2 separate regions of the Homo sapiens genome follow, and region 2 is linked to region 1. The links are contacts of gene promoters, found by promoter capture Hi-C in human tissues and cell types (Jung and others, 2019). All regions are on one chromosome and are shown on one strand. Each heading gives the region's core, a stretch centred on a gene start or on the middle of the fragment in contact. The rest is flanking DNA. Distances are from core to core; before and after follow the strand shown. Region 1 holds the start of RPL24 (ribosomal protein L24). Region 2 has its middle 64 kb from the start of RDUR.

Region 1 (6,608 bases), core at 933-3,432:
TGGGTGGCCAAGGCAGGAGGATTACTTGAGCCCAAGAATCTGAGACGAAATTGGGCAACATCGCAAAGATTTCTGTCTCCTCAAAATATATTTAAAAAATAGCTGGGCCATGGTGGCATGTGCCTGTGGACCACGGGGTAGGCGGAGGTGGGAGGATCACTTGAGCCCATAAGGTTGAGGTGGAGTGAGCTGTGATCCTGCCACTGCTCTCCAGCCTGAGCAACAGAGGACCTGTCTCCCCAAAAAAAAAAAAAAAAAAAAAAAAAAAAAAAAAAAAAGGTATAGTGGCCTTATGTACATTCATAGCGCTGTGTAGCTATCACCATTATCCATCTAAATAACTTTTTTTTTTTTTAAAGGTCTCCTATGTTGCCTCAAACAATCCTCCCACCTTGGCCTCCGGAGGAGCTAGAGTACAGCCGCTGCCACCAAGCCCGGATTTGCTATGACACTGATATACAAGTTATAGAGTCCCTGCTTTCAACTGTTTTAGGGTATAACTTAGAAGTGGAACTGCTGGGATAATTTTTATGTTTACCCTTTTGAGAAAACACCAAATGATTTTTCACAGCTGTTGCATATTTAGCAATGCACAAAGGTTCCAATTTCTCCCCATCCTCACCAACACCTGTAATTCCTGTTTTTTTTTTTCCTGAATAGTCACCCTAATAGGTGTGTCATATCCACTTTTAAGTTTCTCCTTCCTCTGAACTTTCAACATATTTTATGTCTGATGGCATTTATTTCTCACAATACCTAGAAAAGTCCTTCATCCAGAAGGTGTTCAGTAAGTATTCCCAAGCCTCCTGAATACTAGTCCTACCATGGCACTCAAACTTTTTCTCATGTATAACCCAGCTAAAAGGACACTTAACAAGGACCAGAAAAACCACTGTTTTTCTAGTGAATGAACTAGTGTATGGTGGACTGGTTCATGGTCCACTGGCTATGTTAGGACTAATCCTGTAAATATTGCAATCAAAACCAAATTATGGTAACTTCTCAATTTCCTCCCACTGGAAAACTAAGCCCTTCCACCCTGCCCTATAACGCAAAGGTGCTTAACGTAATTTATCTGACTTTAAAATTTCAACTCGGTATTGCTACTAGCCTAAAATATATAGAGACAGTTTATAATATCTTTTTCATTTTGCTGACGCTTTACAGTTTAAGAGCTCTTTCGCATACAGTCTGATTTAATTTTACAGAGCAGAAAACCAACGTTCAGAGAGCTTTGACAACTTAAGAGATAGCCCCCAACATCAAGGCGTATTCCACTTACCGACTGTCCCTTTTTGTGCTTCCTTCTGTAGAGGACAGTCCAGTTTATCTGCCGAGGATTCCTCTTGGAAAGGAAAGCCGACTCGCATTTCGCATTAAGAAACTGGAAAACCTAGAGTGACAAATGCAAAGGAATTACTATTTAACTATACAAAGTACAAGAGGCTGAGTAAGCTTGGAATCCTTAGAAGATCAATATGCTAGTTCTGGCTTATCATTTTACAAAACTGAGGCCCACAAGGACCAAAAGGCTGTCACATAACTGGCAGGTAACTGTGTCACACTATGAAGGTCCTTGCGTTTAGTCTTTTCTCGAGAGCAGGAAATCTAGGCTCATAGCAAAGGACAGGGTGGTGCGTCCTTCTGGGAAGCATTCTGCTCTTGTCCGTCCCAGGATTCCAAAGGGTACCTCCGTACCTCAGTTATTTCCCTTACACCGGGACATCAGTTACATAAACCCCTCCTGATGTCCGACCTGGCTCACAATAAATAATCAACACTGGTTCACTTAGAGGTTTCTGGTCCTAACGACCAGTCCACAGAGCGTCCACGAAGACTTCCAGAGGCCAGTGGTGATGTGGGGAATAAACCCGCCTAAACCGAATTAAACCAGCCTTTCCTCCTCGGAGTACAAGAAGGTAGGTGAAGCCGACGCGGCTTTTTACCTTCCCGTCGGTCCTGGCGTAGCGCCTCCCGTGTCCGGGGTAGATCTTGTACCCGCTAAAACTGCACAGCTCGACCCTGCAACAAAAAGTGAAAGTCCATCAGGGAGGGTGTCTACAGCCATGCCAGGGACGACAGAGAGGAGTTCTGCCCGAGGATGTAAGCGGATTGGGAACCACGGGTCGTGCTTACTTCATGGCGACAGCTCCACGGAAAGACAAAAGATGGCGAAAAGAAAGAGAGAATCATGGGAAGAGACCTTATAAGGTCGCTGCGGGGATGGGGGCCGGAAATCTCCTCCCCAATATCCTTCGATGCTCCTGGCCCTCCTTGATGACGTAATCATCGCGAGGCGAAAGATCTCGTTTTCCCTGACAGCTGACTTCCTCTGGCGCAATTCATCCAGAGGCGCTGGAGGGTTCTCGGGCCCAGAGGGCCTGCCAAAAAGGCAGTCAGACAGTTGGTTTATGAGTCATTCTGTCTCTGTCTCTCCTCTCTTTTTTTTTTTTGAGACGGAGTTTCGCTCTTGTTGCCCAGGCTGGAGTGCAGTGGCGCAATCTCGGCTCACCGTAACCTCCGCCTCCCAGGTTCAAGCGATTCTCCTGCCTCAGCCTCCCTAGTAGCTGGGATTACAGGCATGTGCCACCACGTCCGGCTAATTTTGTATTTTTCGTAGAGACGGGGTTTCTCCATGTTGGTCAGGCTGGTCTCGAACTCCTGACCTCAGGTGGTCCGCCCTCCTCGGCCTCCCAAAGTGTTGGGATTATAGGCGGGAGCCACTGCGCCCGGCCCATTCTGCCTCTCTTACTGCCAAGTATCCTAGAGCCATCTTCCGGCTGCAGGGAATGTGAACTGAAGAGAAAGGTGTCCTCTCTTCTCATAAAGAGACCCAAAGACGAATGCCCCGCAGGTAAAACCAGTCACATTTTGCCTTCCCTGTTGGCCCATTTCCTCAACCAAACAAATTAATAGTTTCACCATTTATAAGAAAGTAATGACAACCGAACCGTTTCTCAGGCTGTGCGAATCGAACAGTGCGCGTTGGCGCTTTGCATTAATTATAATTAACATTCTTTGAGCGCTTTCTCTGTGCCGGGAATTATGCCAAAGGCTTTTTAAACATGAGCTCATTCAGTTTCCAAAATTCCTATTAAGTACCTGCCTAAGAACTACAATTCGGAGTTGCTGCCTAGTGAAGTTGAGGGGGTCGGTGGAGCCCCGCTGGGAGGCCAAGGGCTCAATCTGTTGAGCCCTTCTATGATGCTACATATTTCATCGTATGACAAGGAGTGGCCAGAGGCAATTCTTGAATTCTGTGGGAGGTTGCAGTATATGACTAGGAAACAAATGTAATGACTGAGTTCTGCTTTCTATGTATGCAACTCACCCTAAAAACGTTTTGTAAGGTAGCTGGTTGAAGATATTTGGAATGTCTAACAAGTTGGCTGACTAATGTCATGAAAACTGTACAATTGTGTTGGAGCCAGTCTTTTTTTTTTTTTTTTTTCCTTGAGACGGAGTTTCGCTCTTTCATTCAGGCTGGAGTGAAGTGGCGCGGTCTCGGCTCACTGCAACCTCCGCCCTCTGGGTTCAAACGATTGATTCTCCTGCCTCAGCCTCCCGAGTAGCTGGGATTACAGGCGCCTGCCACCACGCTCGGCTAATTTTTGTATTTTTAGTAGAGATGGGGTTTCACCATGTTGTCCAGGCTGGTCCCAAACTCTTGACCTCAGGTGATCCACTCGTTCTCCCAAAGTGCTAGGATTACAGGCGTGAGCCACCGCGCCGGGCCTGGAACCAGTCTTAAGAATGATGTTAGGTGGCCAGTCATGGCGGCTCATGCCTGTAATTACGGCACTTTGGGAGGCCGAGGTGGGCGGATCACCTGAGGTTAGGAGTTCCAGCCCAGCCTGGTCAAAATGGTGAAACCCCTTCTCTACTAAAAATACAAAAATTAGCTGGGCGTGGTGGCGCACGCCTGTAATCCCAGCTCCTCGGGAGGCTGCGGGAGGAGAATCGCTTGAACCCGGGAGGCAGAGGTTGCATTTAGCCAAGATCGCGCCACTACACTCCAGCCTGGGCAAGAAGAGCAAAACTCCATATCAAAAAAAAAAAAAAAAAGGAGGCCGGGTGCAGCGGCTCACGTCTGTAATCCCGGCACTGTGGAATGCCGAGGCGGGCGGATCACGAGGTCAGGAGTTTGAGACCAGCCTGGGTAACACGATGAAACCCCGCCTCTACAAAAAAAAAAAAAAATTAGCCTGGTGTGGTGGTGCGCGCCTGTAGTCCCACCTACTCGGGAGGCTGAGGCAGGAAAATCGCTTGAACCCGGGAAGCGGAGGTTGCAGAGAGCCAAGATCGCACCACTGCACTCCAGCCTGGGCGACAGAGCGAGACTCCGTGTGAAAACAAACAAACAACAACAACAAAAAACCAAAACAAAACATCTTTCAGAAATAGTCCTGGCTTCTACAAGATCCAAGGCACAGCTGAGTTTAGGTAGCCGGTGGAACCAAGATCCACCTGAAGGAATGCAGTCCTTTTTTGTTCCACAGAACCTCAGAATTTATAGTCCCTTCCCAATATTTTAGAAAGATTTTGTTTTATTGTTCTTTAAAATTACGTTTGGCCTGACTGGTTCTGTGGAAGAAATGCAGGAAACTGGACCTTAGGGATTTTGGCTGTATTTCACTCTTTACTGGAGGGCCTTCTTGTCAGGGTTCCTTGTAACACACTCCCATAACAAACAAATTGTGCTCAAAATGCTCTTAGAATAGGGAGAAATTTTGCAGAGAGAGACCTCTAAATGAATTTATATTATACAGTGTCATAAAGTAGAGCTTCTGACACCATCCGTAAATTATTGCTGACTTTATCCATGCTTTTGCTTTTATCATAGGCAAAAGGTTCAGCTACACTCTATTCTCTTTTTATTCATTTATGGAGCAATACTGAACCAAACTTGGTGCCCTTTTCAGCCTCTGTCCCTGTGAGAACAGTGTGTTGCTTCCCTTCACAGTTTCGTCACCCATTTGTACATATTTCCCTGCTATATTAGTTTCCTGTAGTTGCTGTAACAAATTACTATGGACTTGGTAACAACACAGATACATATTTTCTCACAGTTCTGGAGGCAGTAAGTTCAAAATCAGTATCACTAGGCTGAAATCAAGGTATCTTTGTGCTCTCTGGATCAAGGATCTAAGGCAGAACGTGTTCCTTGCTCTTCCAATTTCCACTCATCTAAACCACTCTTGAATTCCTAACCCATAGAAACTGTTAGATCATAAATGTGTGTTGTTTTAAACTGTTTAGGGGAGTAATTTGTTAATATAGAAATAGGTAATATAGGAGGTAAGGAAAAATTGACAATGAGGACTTGGTGAATCGTGGTATCATTTGTCAAGAGTTGACAGATAAGAGGAAGGGAGTAGGTTTGTCAGGGAAAGGGTTAATTTTTTTTTTTTGGAGACTTGTTGCCCAGGCTGGAGTACAATGGCATGATCTTGGCTCACCACAACTTCCGCCTCCTGGGTTCAAGTGATTTTGCTGCCTCAGCCTCCCGAGTAGCTGGGATTACAGGCATGTGCCACCACACCCAGCTAATTTTGTATTTTTAGTAGAGATGGGATTTCTCCATATTGGTCAGGCTGGTCTCGAACTCCTGACCTCAGGTGATCCACCCGCCTCGGCCTCCCAAAGTGCTGGGATTATAGGCATGAACCGCTGCGCTCAGCCCGAAAGGGTTAATTTTGAAAAGGCTGGGTTCAAGATGCTGATAGGGATATTAAGGTACAACTGTGTAGTGGGAAGTTAAACATGTTCAGAAGAGTGTTTGTAATATGATTTATTTTATGTTTTAATTTTTTTTTGAGATAGGGCCTCACCTTGTCTCCCAGGCTGAAGTGCAGTGGATGATCAGGGTTCACTGCAGTCCCTACCTCCTGGGCTCAAGTGATCATCCCACCTCAGCCCCATGAATAGCTGGGACTATAGGTGTTTGCCACCATGGCCAGCTAATTTTTTGTATTTTTGGTGGAGATGGGGTTTCACCATGTTGCCTTGGCAGGTCTTGAACTGGACTCAAGCGAGCAGCCCACCTCAGCCTTCCAAAGTGCTGGGATCACAAGCGTGAGCCACCATGTCCAGCCAAGGATATATTTTAGTAGTAATGAACTTATGGTGACAGAATATGTGGGATAACGTCACCTACTGTCACAAGCTGGCTTCTCTGGAAACAGTTACTGAGACTGACTTTGGGGTTCAAGATATTTGTTACAGATCAAGTCTTGTGAAGGGAAGGGGGAGAAAACAGTGTTAGGCAGAGGAAGAAGTTGCATATGTTATAGGCCCAACTAAACCTCAGTCAGGCCGTGTGTGGTGGCTTATGCCTGTAATGCCAGCACTTTGGGAGGCCAAGGTGGGAGGATTGCTTGAGCACAGGAGTTTGAGGCTGAAGTGAGCTATGATCGCACCACTGCAATCAATCAATCAATAAACTTCAGTCAACCCTGCCAGGAGCTATGGAACAATTATTGTTTGTTGGAGTGTTCTGTGTTGGGCTAAATGTGAAGCCTCTTTATACTTCTACCTTACTCAGTCACCATATGGGGGCTGCCCCAGAGAGGTCATGACCTCAAGTGAGGAAGTACTCAGCAGCTGAG
Region 2 (7,330 bases), core at 3,410-5,909, 320 kb after region 1:
CATCCACTTTCGAGTAGTGCCTGCATGTCATGTAGAACCATCTGCAAACCAGGCCCAAGTCTTCTGGTCTTCTGTCAGTTGATCATAGGGAACTCCCCATGAGGCCCTAGGTGCAGTCTGGGAGAGAGAAGTTAGCATAGCAGAAGTGGGAGCCACGGGCATTTGGGTCACTTCTTTATGTAATTTACTTATGCCTTCAGGGTCTTCTTGGGCTCCATCACTTATATTACTTCCATTTGATGATGGAGTACTGCTGTGCACACCCAACTTTATGGCTTGGTAGGCGAGATAATATCTAGTTTGTAATGGGGAGCTCAGATTGCATGGTAAGTTGGTGGCTCATAAGCATCCTGTCTCCACCAAGGCCCAGTAGCAGGCTAGGAGCTGTTTCTCAAAAGAGGAGTAGTCATCCACAGGGGATGGGCAGGTCTTTGCTCCAAAATCCTAAGGGCTTGTGCTGCAGGTGCTTGCAAAAGGCTTTAAACAGCATTCCTATCTGTCACTGACACTTCAAGCACAATTTGATCTGCTGGATCTTATGGTTAAAGTGCCAGAGCAGCTTGCATGGCAGCCTGGACCTGTTGTAGAGCTTTCTCTTGTTCTGAGCCCTTTTCAAACTGGCTGCTTTTTTGGGTCACTCAGCAAATGAGCCAGAGTAACACAGTCAAAAGAAAAATATGTTGCCTTCGAATTCAAAGAGGCTCACTAGTTGTTTTGTCACCTTTCCGGTCATACAAGGGTCCAGTTGCAACAACATACCCTTCACCTTAGAAGGGCTATCTCAACTTGCCACACACCACTGGAACCCTAGAAACTTCACTGAGGTAGATACCTGAATTTTTCTTGGATTTATTTCCCTCCCTCTGACACTCAAATGTCTTACCAAGATATCTAGAGTTGTAGCTACTTCTTGGTCGCTAGACCCCATTAGCATAAAGTCATCAATGTGTTTGGTCAGTGAAATAAAAGGGAAGGGAAGAGTGGAAGAGAAGAGTGATTAAGAATCTTGCAAACAGCTGGGCATGGTCATTCATGCCTGTAATCACAGCATTTTGGGAGGCCAAGGCGGGCTGATCACTTGAGGCCAGGAGTTCAAGATCAGCCTGGCCAATACAGTGAAAACCTGCCTCTACTAAAAATACAGGAAATTAGCTGGGTGTGGTGGTGCACATCTGTAATCCCAGCTACTTGGGAGGCTGAGGCACAACAATTGCTTGAACCTGGGAAGTGGAGGTTGCAGTGAGCCAAGGTTGCACCACTGTACTCCAGCCTGGGTGACAGGGTGAGACTCTGGTCTGAAAAGGAAAAAAAAAAAAAGATTCCTGCAAATGAAATTATGATATAGGGAAGAAGAGTTGATATATCCGTGAGGTGGGACAGTGAAGATGTACTGCAGGCTCTGCCAGCTGAAAGCATACTGCTTCTGGTGGTCTTTACTAATGGGTATCAAGAAATACCAGGAAAATACAAGGTGTCAGGGGATGTGTTGGTGTGTTCAAGTTATGAAACCACACCTGGTATAGCAGCTGTAGTTAGAGTCACTGTACTAATCTCACAATGATCTGTCATTCATCTGTCTTTTACAAAGGCCAAATAGGTGAGTTGAATGAGGATATGGTGGGAATCACCACCCCTGAATCTTTCAAGTCCTTAATGGTGGACTGATCTCTGCAATCCCTCCAGGAATGTGGTATTGCTTTTGGTTACTATTTTCTTAGATAGAGGCAGTTTTAGTTGCTTCCATCTGTCCCTTTCTACTGTAGTAGCCCTTACACCATAGGTCAATGAACCAATGTGGGGAGGCTGTCACCTGATGAGTATATCTACTCCAATTATACATTCTGGAACTGGGAAAATAACTACAGGATAGGTTCAGGGGCATACCAGGCCACTGTGATATAGACATGAGTTAAAACTCCATTGATTAGCAGACCGCCATAAGCCCCTTCTCTGACTGATGAAACACAGTGATGTTTGAAGTGTCCTGGAATTAGTGTCAGTTCAGAGCCAGTGTCCAGTAGTCCCTGAAAGGTCTGATTTCCCCCTCCCCTCAGTACATACTTACCTTTGTAAAAGACTATAGATCTCTTTGGGAGAAAGATTAACAGTCTAAATATTTGGCAGTGTGCTATGTCCTTCCTCAAGGGGAACCAGCTTCCCCTTTATTCAAGGGGGCCTTGATCTGTAAATTGGCTCATCAGAAGGTTAATTGAGGGCCTGTGCCTCCTTTGTTTTTTTGATTCACTTTAGAATTCGGTTCACTTGACCTAGATCTTTTCTGCTTACATAGATGAAGTAAGAATTTAGTAGGCTTCTTATCTCTTTAGCTTGTAGGAACACCATGATCATTTAGTCAATCACACAGGATGATTACTGCTTTGACTCTGCTCTTCATCATGGTGACCACACTCACCTTGCCTTTGGTGGTTACTGAGGGCTGCCGCTTGGCTTCTGCCACCCTGGGATCCAATTACTACTGTTGTATTTAGATTTCCCAATTCAGGGGCTGCAGTTCCCATTGCAGGATCTGGTCTACAGAGAAGAGTGATTGTACAGCTCTTCAAATGTTAGAGCTCCTCTCAAAAATGTATTTCTCACAGTTGTGGTGAAAGTTATGTCTTCTGGACCCTGCCAGGGTGGGTGAGTAGACCTTAAATGACAAATTTACTCCAAAATTCCAATCTTTCTGGGCCTTTGAATCCCTTTCTCTACATTAAACCAAGGCAAGTCCAGCATTTCTAACACACTGTGGGCCACCTTTTGGTCCATGTTTTAGCCAACCACACAAACTGTTAGAGCCCTTTCTATTTCCCTGAGCTGCAACATTAAGTGCAGAATCTCTGCTTAGTGGGCTCATATCAATAAATTTAGCCTCATCCAACTTTATGTTCCTTCCACCATTATACCACACCCTTAATATCCATTCCCACATATATTCCCCAGATTTCTGTTTGTACAAATTAGAAAACTCAAGTAGTTATTTTGGAGTGTAGCACACCTCAAGGGTCACACTTTGTACCTCACCATTAGGGTCCTGCTGAGACTTGAGTCTAGGTGTAAGTCTAAAATTCAAAGGGGTTTTGGGGATAAGTCCTGAGGAGAATCGGCATTGCCTTGTTAGGCAATGGACTCAGAGGAGGCCATTACCTTTTCCTCAGACAATGCAGGGTTAATCCCTATAGATGAGGGTGGAGAGGATGCTTCTACTGGCAAAGAAGACTCATCAGAATTTGGAGGATTTTTGTCCCTCGCTCCATTAGGTTCTTCCCACATATTCCCATTGCAAATTCAGGATCCCGTTCTTTCCTAATCGATACCTTCATTCTATCAGTGGACAGAATAACCAAATAAACTTTTTAAAAAAGAGATATATAAATGGTGTTGACAAATATGGCTTACCAGGTATCAAAGCATAAAATAATGTTACAGGAATTAAAGAAGTATGTCTCAGGCTGAGTGCGGTGATTCATGTCTGTAATCTCAACACTTTAGGAGGCCAAAGCAGGAGGATCACTTGAGGCCAGATGTTTGAGTCCAGTCTGGTTAACATAAAAAGAACATGTCTCTTAAAAAACAAAACAAAAAAACCAAAAAAAACAAAACACCCAAAACAAGTATGTCTATGGCTTCCAGATAAGCAAATAGATGAGTGGACCAAAATAGAGATTCCACATCAGACTCATGCATATATGAATGAGTAATACTTTTAATGAGTAGCAAAATGAAGAATCACAAATACTTCATCTTTACCTAGAATGGATAACAGTGGATATTGATTATATATATTTACCTTCATCACCTGGACATTCCTCAGAACATCAGAGAATAGGAGACAAATCCTACAAATATTCAGCGTCCTATCACATCAATAAAATGTTTAGGAGTTTAGTGGCCTGGAGCATGCCAGGACATTACTTCCAAAATAAAGGGCAGATTATTGTACTATGTACTTCCTATCAAGAAGGAAAACAATACATGATAGGCTGGGAAAGTAATTTGCATTGTAATTCAGTCACAGGATACAGAGCTTGGGTATGGTTTCAGTTACGTCAGTTCTGCAGCTACAGGAGATAAATGTCTTAGGGCAGATATAGAAGTTTTCATGTCATTTTTATGCAAAAAACTTTAATGCTTGAGCTCATCCTTTTCTTTCTCCATTTTGTTCAGTGACAAGGAACAACCAGGCAATCTCATTATACTTGTTAGTTTGACAACAATGCTCAAAAATATTATATACATGGTCACTAGATGCTTGCTTCTTATAAGTGTTTGGTTGGGAGTATTCAGTGGTAATATTTTGTGTACCTCTATTATTCGTGATAGTCCAGATCACGCTAGGGACTACCAATGCTATTTTTACTACTGGAAATAGAGTCACTCGTATCTTTAAAACTAGCCAGATTAGAGAGCCAATTTCAGAAACTCTAGAACCAATTCAGAAAATTCATCCTGCAGATTCTGTTCCTCTGGAACCACTTTCAGAACCAAAATCTGTTACTAGTCAGCATTCTGCAGAGAAGCTGAATTAATTATCTCTATCTATCTATTATCTATTTTCTATCTATCTATCTATCTATCTATCTATCTATCTATCTATCTATCATCTATCTATCTATCTACCTATCTAATCTATTTACCTATTTCCTAAAAGATTTATATTTATCTTAAGATATTGGTTATAAGGAATCAACTGACGATTTTGAAGACTGGCAAGTCCAAAATCTGCAGAGCTCATGTCTCAGTTAGAAGGCTGTCAGGCAGGAGAATTCTTTCTTGGAAGAGGTCAGTCTTTTTCTACTGAGGCTGTCAGCTGATTGGATGAGGCTCACTTACATTGTGGAGGATCATCTGCTTTACTTAATCTATTGATTTAAATATCAATCTCATCCCAAAACATCCTTATGAAAAGACTCAGAATGCTCTTTGACCAAATATCTGTGCATCCCATGGCCCAGTCAAGTTGACACATAAAATGATCATAGTGAGCTAGTCACATGGTAATTGCTATGTGACCACATATATGAGTTGGTGCAGTAGTGGTGGATGACAATGACATGCAGATCTAGGCTAGCTGCTCATGTGTCCTTTTTGAACTCTCTGGCTTTGTTCATGCTAAATCCCAGATGTGGCACTTGCACATTTTAATGGCCTGCTTCTGGTTCCATCTGACCTTATGATTTTGTGGATCTGACAGCTCATGATCAGTAGTTCTGGCCACTTGTCCACTTAATGTCCCACGAACAAGCTATTCATCTCTACTAGAGTTCAGTGGAACAGCAGAATCTGTCATTTGTAAGCTGAGTAATTCTCCACTGCAGGGAGCATAATCTTGCTCTCTCATTAGTGTTTGTCATAAACTTTGCACAACATCTTTCCCCACTAATGATGTCTCTAATGCAATAATGACTACTGGTTATATAATTTAAAAAGCAGGGCCACTTGTACCAGAATCTAGTCCTATTTCATAGCTTTTCTCTGCTCGAGGTCCTACTCAAAGCTGGAAGCCTTTCATGTATCCTAGTGAATGGGTAGAACCAATATCTTAGATATGCAATACACTATCTCCAGAACTTGAACAAGTCTATTAAGGGTTGTATTCCTTCTTGGTGGGAGGTGCAAAGTACAAGAATCTGTCCTCTACTTCGGAGGTAACATCATGGCATACTTCAGGCCACTAGCCCCCTAAAAAATTTATTGATGTGACAGGCCCCTGAATATTTGTAGGATTTATCCTCTACCCTCTGTTGCTCTGATGGATGCCTAGGTGATCCGGTAAATGTATATAGTCAATATCCACTGTTATCCATTCTAGGTAAATGTGAAGTGTTTGTGAACTTTTAATTTTGATAGAGTCGGAAAATAATGCATTTATTAGATATATTTTAGTAACATTTATGGAACATTCCTTCATTTTACTACTTGTCAAAAATGTTAATTCTTATATTCATAAGTCTTATTTGTAATTTCTATATTGGTCCACTCATCTTTTTGCTAAATTTAGGGCAGATATATACTTCTTGAATTCCTGTAACATTATTTTATGCTTTGATACCTGGTAAGGCATGTTTCCCCACACCATTTATATATTTCTTTCTAAAAAAGGTTTTTGGTTATTTTTGCAAATTTTTTATTCCACAAACACTTTGAGATTAGTTTGAAAAGTTCCAAAAAAGAAAGCTGTGGTGGAAATTTTGCTGGGATTAGACTAACTTTATAGATGATTTTACTGTTGAACAAATGACTCAAAGAATATGAATATATGAACATAAAAACTTAGAGGAAGTTTGAGTCATAGACACACTGATAATTTCTGATAGAAGTAAATAGACAAAACTCTATCTTTAAATAAATGTTCTAAAACTCAGCAGCCATATTTTTTTCCCTCTGATGGGGACAACCTTCTTCATGAGCTACAAAGGACATTTGCCCACAGTTTCTATTGAGGGGCTTTCTTAGCACTGTTTCTGGGTATTTTTTTCATTTTATAATTGTGTTTAACAGGTCATGTAGAGGATTCAGAAACAAAATATGTAATGGACACAGTAATGAGGCACTTAAATTCTCCCTCAGGAGTGAAGCTCTTACCAAGTTCTGGGAGTACTGCCAGCAAATAACCCTCAGCTTTCAGTCCACACTGCGGGAAATGCCTCAGCTGAAGTCACTTCTCTCAAGAGCAAGCTCCCTGCTCAAGGAAGCTGAAACCCAAACATAATGTTGAATAAAAACAATAAAAGCAGACATTTTTACCCTGTTCCCAATTTTAGGGAGAAAACATTTAATATTTTGCCATTAAGAAAACACAAGCTTTTTGTTTTCTTAATGCCTAATTATGCATTATGCCTAATAAAGGCATAGATGTCTTTATTAGATTGTAGAATGTCCATTCTATTCCTAGTTTGTGGAAAGGTTTTTTCCTTCTTTTCAATCATGAACAGATTTTTGTGTTTGGTTAATATTTTGCTTTTTCTTGATAATATAATTTTTCTCCTTTAATCTATAATTTAGTGCGATACATTGGACATTCTTTTTTTTTTTTGAGACAGAGTCTCACTCTGTCGCCCAGGCTGGAATGCAGTGGTGTGATCACTGCTCACTGCAACCTCCACCTCCCAGGTTCAAGCGATTCTCCTGCCTCAGCCTCCTGAGTAGCTGGGATTACAGGCGCATGCCATCACACCTGGCTAATTTTTGTATTTTTAGTAGAGACAGGGTTTCAAGACCAGGCTGGTCTTGAACCCCTGACCTCGTGATCCGCCTGCCTCAGCCTCCCAAAGTGCTGAGATTACAGCCGTGAGCCACCGTGCCCTGTCTGGACATTCTGATAATGTTA

Evidence for each region. The method cuts DNA at HindIII sites, captures the fragments that hold promoters and counts their contacts. A contact is called where the count stands out against the background at its distance.
Region 2: a fragment that was not itself captured here is called in contact with the fragment with the promoter of RPL24 in region 1 in 1 of the 25 tissues and cell types used here (lymphoblastoid cells).

What each region holds. Positions count from the first base shown.
Region 1 is chr3:101,684,536-101,691,143 of GRCh38, forward strand. RPL24 (ribosomal protein L24) reads right to left here and starts at 2,183. Exons shown (of 6, transcript NM_000986.4): 1 at 2,137-2,183; 2 at 1,947-2,022; 3 at 1,283-1,393. The coding sequence starts at 2,141. It overlaps LOC124906262 (endogenous retrovirus group K member 5 Gag polyprotein), which reads left to right. Exons shown (of 3, transcript XM_047449415.1): 2 at 360-2,854. The coding sequence starts at 2,844. RefSeq lists enhancers at 1,580-1,769, 1,760-2,959, 1,930-2,419, 2,430-2,479, 3,390-3,943 and 2 more. The HindIII fragment of the contact is 8,226 bases long and covers 1-4,260 here.
Region 2 is chr3:102,000,727-102,008,056 of GRCh38, forward strand. No RefSeq gene overlaps it. Among named protein-coding and RNA genes, the nearest start is that of RDUR, 64 kb to the left of the region's middle. The HindIII fragment of the contact is 6,844 bases long and covers 1,238-7,330 here.